Regions from separate parts of the Homo sapiens genome. Here region 2 is linked to region 1. The links are contacts of gene promoters, found by promoter capture Hi-C in human tissues and cell types (Jung and others, 2019). All regions are on one chromosome and are shown on one strand. Each heading gives the region's core, a stretch centred on a gene start or on the middle of the fragment in contact. The rest is flanking DNA. Distances are from core to core; before and after follow the strand shown. Region 1 holds the start of GALNT13 (polypeptide N-acetylgalactosaminyltransferase 13). Region 2 overlaps GALNT13 (polypeptide N-acetylgalactosaminyltransferase 13).

Evidence for each region. The method cuts DNA at HindIII sites, captures the fragments that hold promoters and counts their contacts. A contact is called where the count stands out against the background at its distance.
Region 2: a fragment that was not itself captured here is called in contact with the fragment with the promoter of GALNT13 in region 1 in 2 of the 25 tissues and cell types used here (dorsolateral prefrontal cortex and thymus).

What each region holds. Positions count from the first base shown.
Region 1 is chr2:153,868,423-153,874,909 of GRCh38, reverse strand. It overlaps GALNT13 (polypeptide N-acetylgalactosaminyltransferase 13), which reads right to left and starts at 2,988. Exons shown (of 13, transcript NM_052917.4): 1 at 2,607-2,988. The HindIII fragment of the contact is 9,874 bases long and covers 1-6,487 here.
Region 2 is chr2:154,386,741-154,393,227 of GRCh38, reverse strand. The region is part of intron 9 of GALNT13 (polypeptide N-acetylgalactosaminyltransferase 13); the gene reads right to left. Among named protein-coding and RNA genes, the nearest start is that of GALNT13-AS1, 67 kb to the left of the region's middle. The HindIII fragment of the contact is 5,965 bases long and covers 627-6,487 here.

The DNA.
Region 1 (6,487 bases), core at 1,739-4,238:
TGCCACATTTCAGGGCCCCTCTAAACTCATTTCTTCAATTCTGCAATGACTGTGTTAAAGAACACCAGCCAAGTTGTAGACTTGCAAAAAGGGGCAAATTCAAGCAATAACATGAACTACAAAGAAGCAGAAGACCCCTGTTTCAATATCCCTTCTACTAGTTCTCAATTACCATTCATAAAAAATCTAAATGAAACCTCCCAAAAAAGGAGCGGGGAGGTGGAATTTAGCTGCAGGCTCCTTAGCATACCTGGTAACTTGGAAGCCTATGATCCGCTGCATGCTAATCAATCAACCAACAAGTTTTATTAAGCACTTACTAGTTTCCCCACACTGTCCTAGGGACTACATATCTGAGACAGCCTCCATTCTCACATTCCCACTCAGGACTTTCCGAACTGGAATTAATCTATACCAGCAGTACCCTATAATTCCTTTAGAAAAGCTTTCTATTCTTCCTCTCCAAAGCGGATCCGAGACACAGTGCCCCTACTTAAGCAAGTACCTTAAGCCCTGGAATGGGATAAGCATCACAGAAATGGTGAAATAAAAGCATTTATTTAAACAAGCAGAAGCAGCCAGGAAAATTCTCCATGGAATTGAAGGTGGATAGGGGCTAAAGGAGAGATGTGAAATCCTGGTTTATGGCAAACAGTGCAGAGAAATGCATCTTTTTAATGTTCAAAGTCTGCCTTAGGCTACGCAAATTCTCCAGACCTATCCAATTCCCAAATCAAACGAACAGGGTTTCAATATGAAGGTTCTTATTCTGCAGGAGACGTGGGGAAAGAAAAAAAAAAAAAAAACAGAGATTGCGGGAGGGGGGTGCGGGGGGAAAGAAAGATTAGTAATGTAATGCAAAAGTCATTCTTTGAGGAAAAGGAAAGGATGCGTGTAATACAAGGAGAATTATCCCGGAAGGTGAGAGGTCCAAAAGTAAATAACCAATAGGTTGACCTTACTTTTCAATATTCTCGAACCAGCAGGTTTCTTTAACACTAGAGGGCATGAACGCAAACGAGACAGAGAGAGAGAGACAGGGAGACAGCGAGAGAGAGAGACACAGAAAAAGAGAGAGAGAGAAAGAGAGAGAGACGGACTGAGACTCTGAGGAAAGGCAGCTTTCACATAAAGCTGAAAATATTCAAGGATACCAGAAATTTCAAGGGGGCTTTGGCAGCCAAGTGCCTTTAGCCTTGCGAATAAAACCTCTATGTTGTTATGTTGTTTCAGGGAAGGCTGACCACGATCTCTCCAAGGAAACCGCTTTCCTAAGCAATGAATGCATGGTAGTTTAAGGCAGGCATACCTCAGTCCCCAAAGCTCCTCTCCTCTGCTAGCAACACCTTTGCCTGAAGAAAGCTCCCACCCTTTCGAGGTTAGTTTCCCTGAACCCCAAAGCATCTATGTTTGCCTGCTCACTGTCCGTTCTTCTGCAGCTGGCTATAAAGGTTGGGGAGGCAGACTCTCCTCCTGGAAATTCAACTAACCATAGTCAAAGAATCGGGTATGCGGGAGGGGCTTGCGCAGCTTTCGCTGTCCAGAGTAGCAGCCTCAGTGCGCTCAGGTTCGCAGCAGCGCAGCGCCCTCGGACCCGGCAAGGGGAGCCTGCTGCGGTGCCCTCCACTCTAACCCCTTGCGCCCCTCCTTCAGGTCCACGACAGCCTGGACAAGGGCAGGCTGTCTCCTCCGCGTCCCCACTGACCCCGCAGGAAAATCTCTGCACCTGGAGATACCCATTAGATGCGCCAGGGCTTGCTCCCCTAACCAAGGCGCTTCGGGATCGCGGGGCTGGTGTTCGGGAAGACGGGGCAGAGAGATGACAGAGGGAGACAGAGATAAGCTGCGAGAAGCAGACACAGAAAGAGAACAAATGTTGCAAAACGGAGAGACAAAAGGAAAGACAGATTAACAGGGACACAGATATCCCAAGAAAGAAAGAGGGAAACAGAATAAGAGAAAAAAACAGATACATGGCCGGAGAGTGTGGACTGAGGGGACCAAGGCTCAGAAAGAGAAACAGAGGCAGAGACACACACGGCGAGAATGAGAGGCAAGAGGACTCTGAAAAAGCGAGGCAAAGGGGGCACTATACGAAGGCAACCGTCGAGGAAGACACCCAAGACCCAGGGAGCGCCTGGTGTCGGGTCGAGTAGAAACGCCCGCAACGCAGCCGGGGCTGCCTGCAGCTGGTGCGAGAAAGTTGTCTGGGCTTGGAGGCCGAGCCACCCCCGCGGAGGAACGTCACCAGAACGCAGAGGGGGCCAGAGCCGCTCCCCCCCCCCCCCCCGCCACCAACAACTCACCGGGGTAGCCAGAAAAGCAGAGCAGAAGGTGGGCGGCGGCAGAAAGTTCCGCGCCACGCGGTCCTCCCGCAACACCTGCAGCCCCGCAAGCGAGCGCACTCGGAGCTCCCGGGAGGCCGCGTCGCCAGGTCCGCCCGCGCCCCTGCCTTTGCCCTGGGACCGGCCCGGGGCGCTCGGCTCCGCGCCCCGGCACTCGCCGCGGGACTTTGCGGCACCTAGCCCCGGCACTCTGGCAGCCCAGAGGGAGCTCGTCCCAGACAATCAAGAGGAAAAGAGGGGAAGCGAGAAAGAGACGGAGACCTGCTATCCTGGCCAACGATCCCGCGAAGAGGGAACGGCGGTCCACACACGGGATTCAGCCTCAGATCAAGCCCAGCAGGCGCCGGCCGGCCGCGCCGAGTGCGGGGCTCGCCGAGTCCGCGCTCACCTGGAACCCGCGCCGGCCCGCGAGCGCCGCGCGCAGCCCCGGCTCCCGCCCGCGCCTCTCTCTTCACACTTGCCCGCGAGCAGAGGGAGCCGGCTCCAGCCTCGGCCAGCCCCAGAGAGGGGCCTTCATAGCGCAGCGGCGGGCTGAAGGGCTCCTCGAGCGCGGCCAGAGCGGACGCTGAGGCCGAGGAGGCGCCCAGAGCGAGCGAGGGCTGCTAGCACGTTGTCACCTCAGCAGAGCCGCCGCCGCCTGGTCACTTCTCCCCGGCCCCCGCCCCCCTCCCACCCCAGCCCGCCGCCTCCCGGTCCCTCCTCCTCGCGTGGTCCCTCCTCCTCTCGTAGCCCCAGCCTGGAGGCCTCTCACTGGGCTAGTATCATTTACGTAACCAGCACCCCCAGCCCTCCTCCCTCCCTGCTCCCGCTCCTCCCCGGGCTGGGGCGGTGCGCACCGAGCGCGCTCCAGCTGCTTCTGGAGCTGGCGCTTCTGCGATGTGCGCAAGTCCCGCGATACTTGGCAGGCACGGCCCCCAAGAGCAACCCTGGGGTCAGCTCCTCTCGCCGGAGGGCGCCTCGCGACCCCTGGCCGCTTTGGGGCCCCACAACGCCAAAGCCGGCCTGCGTGCACCGCGTTCGCCCAATGCACCAGGGAGCCTCTTAGAGGGGAGCTGGAGGATCAGAGACTGCCCTCGGGGAAAGCGCCGGCAACCCCACCCTTGCCGTCGGCTCTCCAGCCGAGAGATGCTGCGGGGTACTTGACGCTTCGGCGCCCTCCGCAGAAAGGACGGAGGTTGGCCTCTTGTTGGTTACAGTATCTACACCCTGGCAGGATCCTAGTGTTCTGGTTGGCGGTGACTACTGCCACCGAACGCACTGTAAGAGTACTGGAAACACAGAGCGCTTCCTTGTGGCTCTCAAATTTTTATGAAGAGGTAAAGAAAAAAGTGGGGCTTTGAATTCCTTTCTCAGGCAAGTAGGTATGATATTAAACACACACCCACTCCGAAGTACCTGGACGTATGAATGTCTCAGTTAATGTGTTGTACCAATACCCCCATGGTACTGAGTTTAAATACATGTAAAGATTTTAGAACAGTGCCTGGCACAAGGCAGAAACCTAAGACGCAGACATTATTAGCGTCTCAAAGACTTGGGACCTGTCCCCCACTGCCATGGGAGAGGAACTTTTCTAGGAAATTGGGATTGCCGAGTTCAAGTGCCTGCTTGGCAATTTATTCACTGTGGCTCTTGGCTAGTTTTGGCCCTTCGGGTGTCAGTTGTCTTGTTTGTAATAAGGGCTGACAGGGGTCCTTGCTTCTCACAGTGTCACTTCACACATCTTATAGGATGTTTTTGGCAGAATTGGGGGAGGATATAACGACTACATAAAAATATTAAACAGCCACGTTTGACAAACATATGATACTATTAATCATAATCTAGTATGTCAATGCCATTCTTGATTATACTCATGAAAGGCAATTTCCAGAGATATTATCTTTATATCTTTTCGTGAGTCAAGTATCATTTAAATTTCTATGTTAATAACTGTATTAATGTCTCCTCCTACATTGTCCATCCTGCCCTACCGTCAATTATGGAGCATTTACCAGAGATGCTTCTGTGCATGTGTGAGTACACAGGGTCCCACTCATAACACTCTGGAATGTCTCTCTACTGCTCTCTCTAGTGAATTCCAGTCCTAACATCAGGTCACTCACCTCTACATGGCATACTGAGAAAAACTGTGGACCAGGTAAAAGATTGGGGTTCTGATGCTGATACAGCTACTTACTAGTCCTATGTTTTTCAAAGACAAATAAGCCCCCATTCTTACATGTTTCATCTCTTAAAAAAAGGCGCAATTCCATTTTGCAGTCTTTGTGATAATATTTAACTTAGGCAGAATCATAAACTTGGTAAAATTTATTTGGGTAATTGGATATTTACGTAGTCCCAAAGTATCACCCTAGAAAGTATTGGCTTTTGGTGCATAACACACCATTCCAAAACTTATTAGCCCCAACCAATAAACATCTGTAATTTCTCAAAGCTCTGTGGGTTGTCAGGTTGGTTTCTGCCCTGGCTAGCTCAGTTTGGTTTAGAGATCTAGGATGGCTTCACTCACTTGTCTGGTGTGGCATACTTATTAGTCTTGAGGGTGTGGGACTCAGCTGCAATGTTTTGTCTTTTGTTTAATCTAGCCCATCATCCTTCAATAGGCTAGCAGTAGTCGTAGTTGCAGGGCTCCAAAAAGCAACAAGGGAGTGCAAGCTCCAATGTGAAGTACTCTGAGATTCTGTGGACGTACATTTGCTGGTGTCTCATTAGCCATGGAAGTTACATGGCCCAAACATAGATAATATAGTCCATGTCTTGATGGGAGAAACTATAATGCCATATTTCAAGGAGAATGCATACACAAAAATAACTTGAGGCTGTTTTTATAATATACTATAGATCCTTAATTACAAACGAATAATAAATTACATGTAGTGGATAAATCTGGTAAACATCACCTTAACCAACTGACCAAGGTTAAAGTCACCAATAATGGGACCAAGTGATATCATGAGCCTCATGATATGATGCACTGAGAAGTACATAACATTATTGATTTAGGATTCCAGATTAAAAAATGCATAATTGAATGCAATCACGAGAAAGCAAAGAAAGCCTTAAATTAAGGAAAATTCTACACAATATCTTGCCTATACTTTTCAAAAATGTCACTGTGATGAAAGTCAAAGAAAAGCTGAGGAAATATTCCAGACTAATGGAGATTTAAAAACCATGACTACTAAATGCAATGTGTAATCCAGAATTGGAGAGCAAACTGGGAATAATATCTATTAATATAAAGAGCATTACTGAGACAATCTAATTCAAAATATTAATAAAAACTATAATATCTAAACTGTATGACTTTTATTTATAATCAAATTAGTTTTATATCAATATTAAGTGTCCTAATTTAATTGTATTGTGATCATATATAAGAAAGCCCTGGATCTTTAAAAAATATAATAAAATATTTTGCAGTAAAAAGAACATAGAGGTTGTAAGGTCCAGAAATACCTATAGAGAGAATGATGATGCAAATGTGGCAACCTTTTATAACACCATTGGTAAATTTTGGTGAGGGGTATGTGTTAATTCTTTGTAGTAATTTTGCAATATTTCTTGAAGTTTAAATACTTTTTTAAAAATCAGGTAGTTATCATTATTTACCTCATAAGAATAATAACCACAATAATTTATCTGAATGAGTGTTGAAAGTTATTAAAAAGTCATATTTTTTCAAACAGAAAGTTTGGCATTTATCTTTAATCAAAGTGGAGCTATTGCAAGTATTTGCTTAGATAAATGGTAAGACCAATACTGTACAATTCTTGGCTATAAGGCCAATACAAGGGCTACCAGGCCAAGAATGTCTATTGGCCAATATAAGGCCAAATGTATAGGGCCTTAGCTACAGAGTATACAAAAGACAGGGATATGAGTTTAGCAGCTACAATTGTCCATTATGTGATTAACCAAGGCGCTCATTCTAAAGGGAAATAAAGGGTGAGATAGTTATGTCTTGCTGAAATTAAATTACCAGGTTTTGGCAAATTATTAGGAATGATGGATAAAGGAAAATGTATTATATAACTTTAAGAGATTAAGATTGGATGAGTAGGATGATGGAGATGCCATTATTAAGGGACACTGAAAGCAATAACTTTATTTTCTAAAATGAAATCTAATAATATTTT
Region 2 (6,487 bases), core at 2,360-4,859, 520 kb before region 1:
TAGATTATTCAGATCCATGGTTTGATATGTAATCTTACTTGTTCCCCAAACTCTTATCTGCAACTCAAACCTCTTCAAAGTAGGTTATCCAATTGTTTACCCAATAATTTTACTGGGATCTATACTAAGCATCTCAAATTTGACAAGTCAAAAATTTGTTTCTCCAACTTGCTCCATCTCCAAGGTTCTTCATTTCAGTATCTAGCACAAATATCCACTGATTTTCTCAAGGAAAAACAAATAATTTTCTTTCTCTCGCACATATACATTTTTAACTCATTAGGAATTCCTGTTGGCTCTACTTCACAATATATCCTCAGCCACTCTACTGTTACCATCCTGGTCCTAACTTCTCCTATCTCTTGCTTACACTAGCATTGCAATAGTCTCCTAACTAGCCCCAAAACATTTTACATTCCTCTACCTATATTTTATTCACTATTGCCTGTTCCTTAGTCAATATATTTAAAATACAAATCAAATCATGTTACTCCCCTGACCAAAAGTGTACCGTGATTTTCCATAACACTAAGAATAATTGAATCTGTCTTAACCATTGCCTGAAGATCCTTTAGAAAATAGCTCTTGGCTGGCTTTTTGAATTCATTTATACTCACTTTGAAACCAGCCCAATTGTCCCACAGAAGTGATGTTTATGGTTTCTTTTGAATAAACATGAAAGAATGGCCCTCCTGGTCTTGAAACTTGAGAAAATTACATTTGTCTCATCTAAGTTCCTTTCTCAGGAAACCAACCAGATAATATAAAGGAACTGAAACTTACCAGATCACCGCATCTGGACAGTGAGACACCAGACCCCCTCACCTGTCATGATTGCCTAACCACCTGTTTCTTGTTGATCAATTCCTCTTCCTTATCCCTAATTCCTAGTTTCCCATACATGGTTACATTTCTTCCCTGCTACATCAACCCCTAATTTTGGTCAGTTGAAGAGATGAATTTGAGACTGATTTCCCATCTCCTTGGCTGCAGCAACCTATTAAAGCCTTCTTCCCTGTAAATACTGGTTGTCTTGGTGATTGACTTCCAGTGCAGCAAGCAGCAGGACACAGACAGAACCCCTGTGTTTCAGTAACATCTTCATTCTAGCCCCACTTTTTTTCATTCTTTACATTTCTTCAAACATCCCACGTTCATTCATAATTCAACAATTCAAGGCTTTATACTTCTTTTTTTCTGTCTGTAATGGTGTTACCCTGCAACTTTCATGAGTTGTTCTTTACTTGGTCCAAGTCTTTGCTGAAAATTTACTTCTTCAGGTTTATTCTGACCTTCCTATCAAAATTGATCACTTTCTCTCATCTTCCTAGGTCTGTCTTTATCCCTCTATCGTGCTTAATTTTTTTCCATGGCACTTATTACTATCTGATATCATATTTCAGATCACTTTGCTCACTGCCTTCTCAACAAAAACTTTGGATGATGAGTTATCTTTTTTGAAGGATAAGGTATCCTACCTGATAATATCTTACAAGATATTGTGACTACTAAATAAATAATGCCTGGAAAAGGTTTAGTACAATGACTGGAATATAATAATTGCTTAATACACATCATATATTGCATTGGATAGCTGTTGTTTTGCACGCCTGACATCCATTCTGCCCTCTGGTAAAAGCACTTGAGTTTCTCTGGGAAACCACTCCCACTTCACTTTCAGCTTGGATGGGGCTGGTTTCATTGCCTTCCCCACTCTTCCAGTTCCATCTGTGAGCACAGACTAAAGGCACATCACCAGAAAATCTAGTTAATATGCAATTTGATTCAGTTGGTCTGGAGTGGGGGCCTTAGGGTCCATATTTCTAACAAGCTCCAAGGGATCCTGCTTTTGCTCAGTCCAGATTTTGATTAGCACCCAAAATAACTAGAGCATTCTATTTCAATTCCTTACATATAACCCAGATAACAATGACTGACTCAGGAATGGGCAAATAAACCAGTCAGCCTAATAAAAGCATACCCTTGAGAATACACTAGGGCTATTAGAAAGTTGAAACTCTATTTCCTCTGGAACTGGGTAGCTGTATAGATGAGTTAAGCCTGGAGTTTTTGGGGCTACCATACAACAAAGGCCTATGAAAGTGACACCAATATAGAAGTAAGATAAATCCACATATGGAAAGATATAGAGTGTGAGCGTAAAAGAGAAGACTATCTAAAGATAGACAGCAGAGGCCAAGCCAAGATTAAGGTAACAGATATTTACTGTGGTCAAGCTCTGTACAAGGGACTTTTCTAGGCACTTGGGATATATCTGTGAACAAAACAAAATTATCTTCCTCCATGGAGTTTATATTCTACTGGAGAAAGACCTAAATAAACAGTAAATACATTAGAAGGTGACACACGCTGTGGCAAAAATTTATAAGTTTTTAAGGCAAGTCTTTCAATGGAACTTGCAAAAGCCATGTAAAGGCTTTGACAATGAAATAAAGATGCATAATGAGTACCAACAAAAGAGTATTTTAATTAATTCCAGGTTTGCAGGTTTCATTAATAGGTAAATGATAAAATTTATGGGCTCCTATTTTTTTTAAATAAGCTGTCTTTTCATGGAATCCAGCTAAATGTCCATCAATGATAGACTAGATAAAGCAAATGTGGTATATATACACCATGGAATACTATGCAGCCATAAAAAAGAACGAGATCATGTCCTTTGCAGGGACATGGATGGAGCTGGAAGCCATTATCCTTAGCAAACTAATACAGGAACAGAAAACCACATACCACGTGCTCTCACTTATAAGTGGGAGTTAACTCATGAGGACATGTGGACACATAGAGGGGAACAATACACACTGTAGTCTATTGGAGGATGGAGGGTGGGAGGAGAAAGAGTATCAGGAAAAATAACTAATGGGTACTAGGGTTAATACCCAGGTGATAAAATAATCTGTACAACAAACCTCCTTGACACAAGTTTACTCATGTAACAAATCTGTACATGCACCCTGAATTTAAGTATAAAAAAATCTGTCTTTTATTCATAGTAAGTCTATTGCATTATAGTATTAAATTCACTCTTTAGAGAAATCATGTTTTAAATTTTAAATAGATATTAGATGGAAGATCATAATGACACTGGCTCAACTGTCCCATAGAACTGATATTTATGATTTTTTTATATAAACATAGAAATTCACCCTCTCAGTCTTAAAACTTGAGAAAATTGTATTTGTCTTATCCAAGTTCCTTTCTTAGGAAATCAACTATCAGGCCACCCAGACATTTTGAAGGAACTGAAACTTACCAGATCACTGCATCTGGACAGTGAGACACCAGACCCCCTCACCCATCATGACTGCCTAAACCAACCAACTGCTTCCTGTTGACCAGCTCCTCTTTAATACCCCTCACTAATTCCTGTTTTCCCTACACATAATTACATTTTTTTTGCTGCTATATAAACCTCTAATTTTAGTCAATTGAGGATATGGATTTGAGACTGCTCTCTTGTCTCCCTGGTTGCAGCACCCAGTTAAAGCCTTCTTCCCTGGCAATACTCATTGTCTCAGGGATTGGACTTCTGTGAGGCAAGCAATGGGCCTTAGACCAAACCCCTGGCATTTCAATGATAATAATTATTTCAGTTAAATTCTTCCCCTAATAGATGTCTAGTAAGTCTAATAGTTCTGTCTCTCTAAAATCAAAGTACCTGAAGAAAGAATACCCTAATGCATGCCAAAGCTTACAATTTCATGCACAAGAATACATATTGCAGCATAACTTAAAAGGGAAATTATTTTTATTCAATAAACAATGCTTAAGTGGCCACTGTGGCTCATGCCTATAATCCCAGCAATTTTGGAGGCCGAGGTGGGCAGATCACTTGAGGCCAGGAGTTCAACACCAGCGTGGCCAAGATGGTGATACCCTGTCTCTACTAAAAACACCAAAAAATTAGCTGGCCAGTTGTGGTGGGTGCCTGTAATCCCAGCTACTTGGGAGGCTGAGGCAGGAGTATCACTTGAACCCGGGAGGTGGAGGTTGCAGTGAGCCGAGATGGCACCACTGTTCTCCAGCCTGGGTGACAGAGCGAGACCACATCTCAAAAAACCACCCCCCCAAAAACAAAAACAAAACAAAACAAAAAGAATGCTTAAGCAAATCAAAGTTATATCTGGTTGACAAAATACAACTCTCGTATTAAAATAATTATGTCTATGTAAGAATATGGAAAAATGTTAAGCCACATGAATGTTTATTATACAGCTATTGTAATTAAAATATATGAAATAATAAAAAATTGAGATAAAGCTCCTTTTTACCTTTAACAGTCAAAACTATGCAGTTGATTATAAAGTTTGTTATGTATGTCATATTAATGATATATATTCACATTACAGGAGTAGACCAGTATATACAGTTTAAGCTAATAATTTTTTTGTGATATTTTCTAAATTCCAAATAGAAAGTGGACTTTATTTTGTTATTTACTCTCAGTAATTGTAATTATGAACTTCATGAATAAGAATCTGCATTTTTCTCCTTTTTAAAATAATATAATAATAAGCCATTGTTAATCCAGCTAGCAATTATTGTATTCTATTGCATCTAAATACCAAATTGTAAATGGTATTGGGAAAGCTGGAGATCCACATGCAAAAGAAGAAATTAGATCTTATTCTTATCTTATACCAAATATAAAAATCAAATCAAAATGGATTAAAATTTTAAATTTAAGATCTGAAACTGTAAAAGTACTAAAACACAGGAGAAATAGTCCATATTTGTCTGGACAAAAATTGTTTGATTTGACTGTAAATGCACAAGCAACAAAAGCAAAAATGGACAAGTTTGATGGTTTCCAACTAAAAAGCTTCTGCACAGCAAAGGAAACAATTAACAAAGTGAAGAGAAAGCCTACAAATGTAAGCCATGGATCTGATAAGGGATTAAAATCTGAAATACATGAGGAACTCAACTCAAAAACAAGAGAACACCTGATTAAAAATGGGCAAAGGTCGTGAACAAACATTTCTCAAAAGAAGACATTCAAATGGCCCATAAACACATGAAATAAATGCTTACATCACTAATCATTAGGAAAGTGCAAATTAAAGCCACAATAAGGTATCGTCTCGCACCTGTTAGAGTGACTTTTATCAGAAATATAAAAGACACATGTTGGAGAGGATGTGGAGAAATGGGAATTCTTAGATATTGTTGATGGAAATATAAATTAGTACAGCCATTATAAAAGTGGTATGGAGCTTCCTTGTAAAACTAAAAATAGAACTACCACATGACACTGTAATTCCTCTTCTGAGTTTATATAAAGGAAATGAAATCAATATGTCAAAGGGATATCTGCACTCGCTTGTTCACTGCAGCATTATTCACAATAGCCAAGAAATGGGATCAACCTAAATGTATATCAACAGATGAACAGATAAAGAGAGTGTTGTATTCTATGCAATGAAGCACTATTTAGCCTTAAAAAGGAAGAAAATCCCATCATTTTGACAACATGAATGAAGCTGAAGGACATTATGCTAAGTGAAATAAACCAGGCACAGAAAAACAAATACCACATGACCTCACTTATGTGTAGATTCTAATACAGTTGTACTCACAGAAGTAGAGAATAGAATGATGGTTACCACAGGCTACAGGCATGAGGAGGGAGGAATGAGGAGTTATTAATCAAAGACTATAAAATTTCAGATAGGAGAAACACGTTTTGGGATCTATTGCTCATCAGGTGACTATAGTCAACAACGATGCATTGTGTATTTTCAAATAACTAGGACATTATCACTAAAAATAATAGGTAAGCAAGGTTATGGCTATGTTAATTAGCTTGATTTATTTATTCCATACTGTTTGTGTCTGTATGTGTAATCTCAAAACATCACATTGTGCCTTATGATTACTGTTAAAACTTGTCAATTAAAAATATGAATAAGCCTGTAAGTACATAAATGATACTGTATTGTTTCAGAGGTTTAGGCGATTTCTTGGAATTATCATTGTTGTTTTTAAATTTAAAACTATTCCCTTAATCTACCTTTTTATCTATTCCCTATGTCCATACAAATTACCCAGGCTCATAAGTTCTCATTAGCATGTCAGTGGACAGAACTACATTAACTGGCTGATTGACTATTCCAACTAATAATACATAGTGATTATGTGTTGAATTTATCATTTACTATTATTACCACAATTTTATTTTAATGGAGTAAAAATGAGATAATGAATTTTACAAAATCATAGCTTCTGCACAGAGCTGTCACACAGGAAGAGGATTATCAGACAACTTTCAATTTATTTAACTCTAATATCCACAGTCAAAAGTTACAGCAGGTCTTGAGGCTGAGTTTTCTAGGCAATTACCTCAAACTTCAGATCAGTGTGACAATAAAGATCTCATATTCAAATGCTTGGTCCAAGATCATTGAGAATATGGGAAATAAGAAAAGTGAGTATTTGCAGTAGTCTTTTAAAATAAAAGAACAAT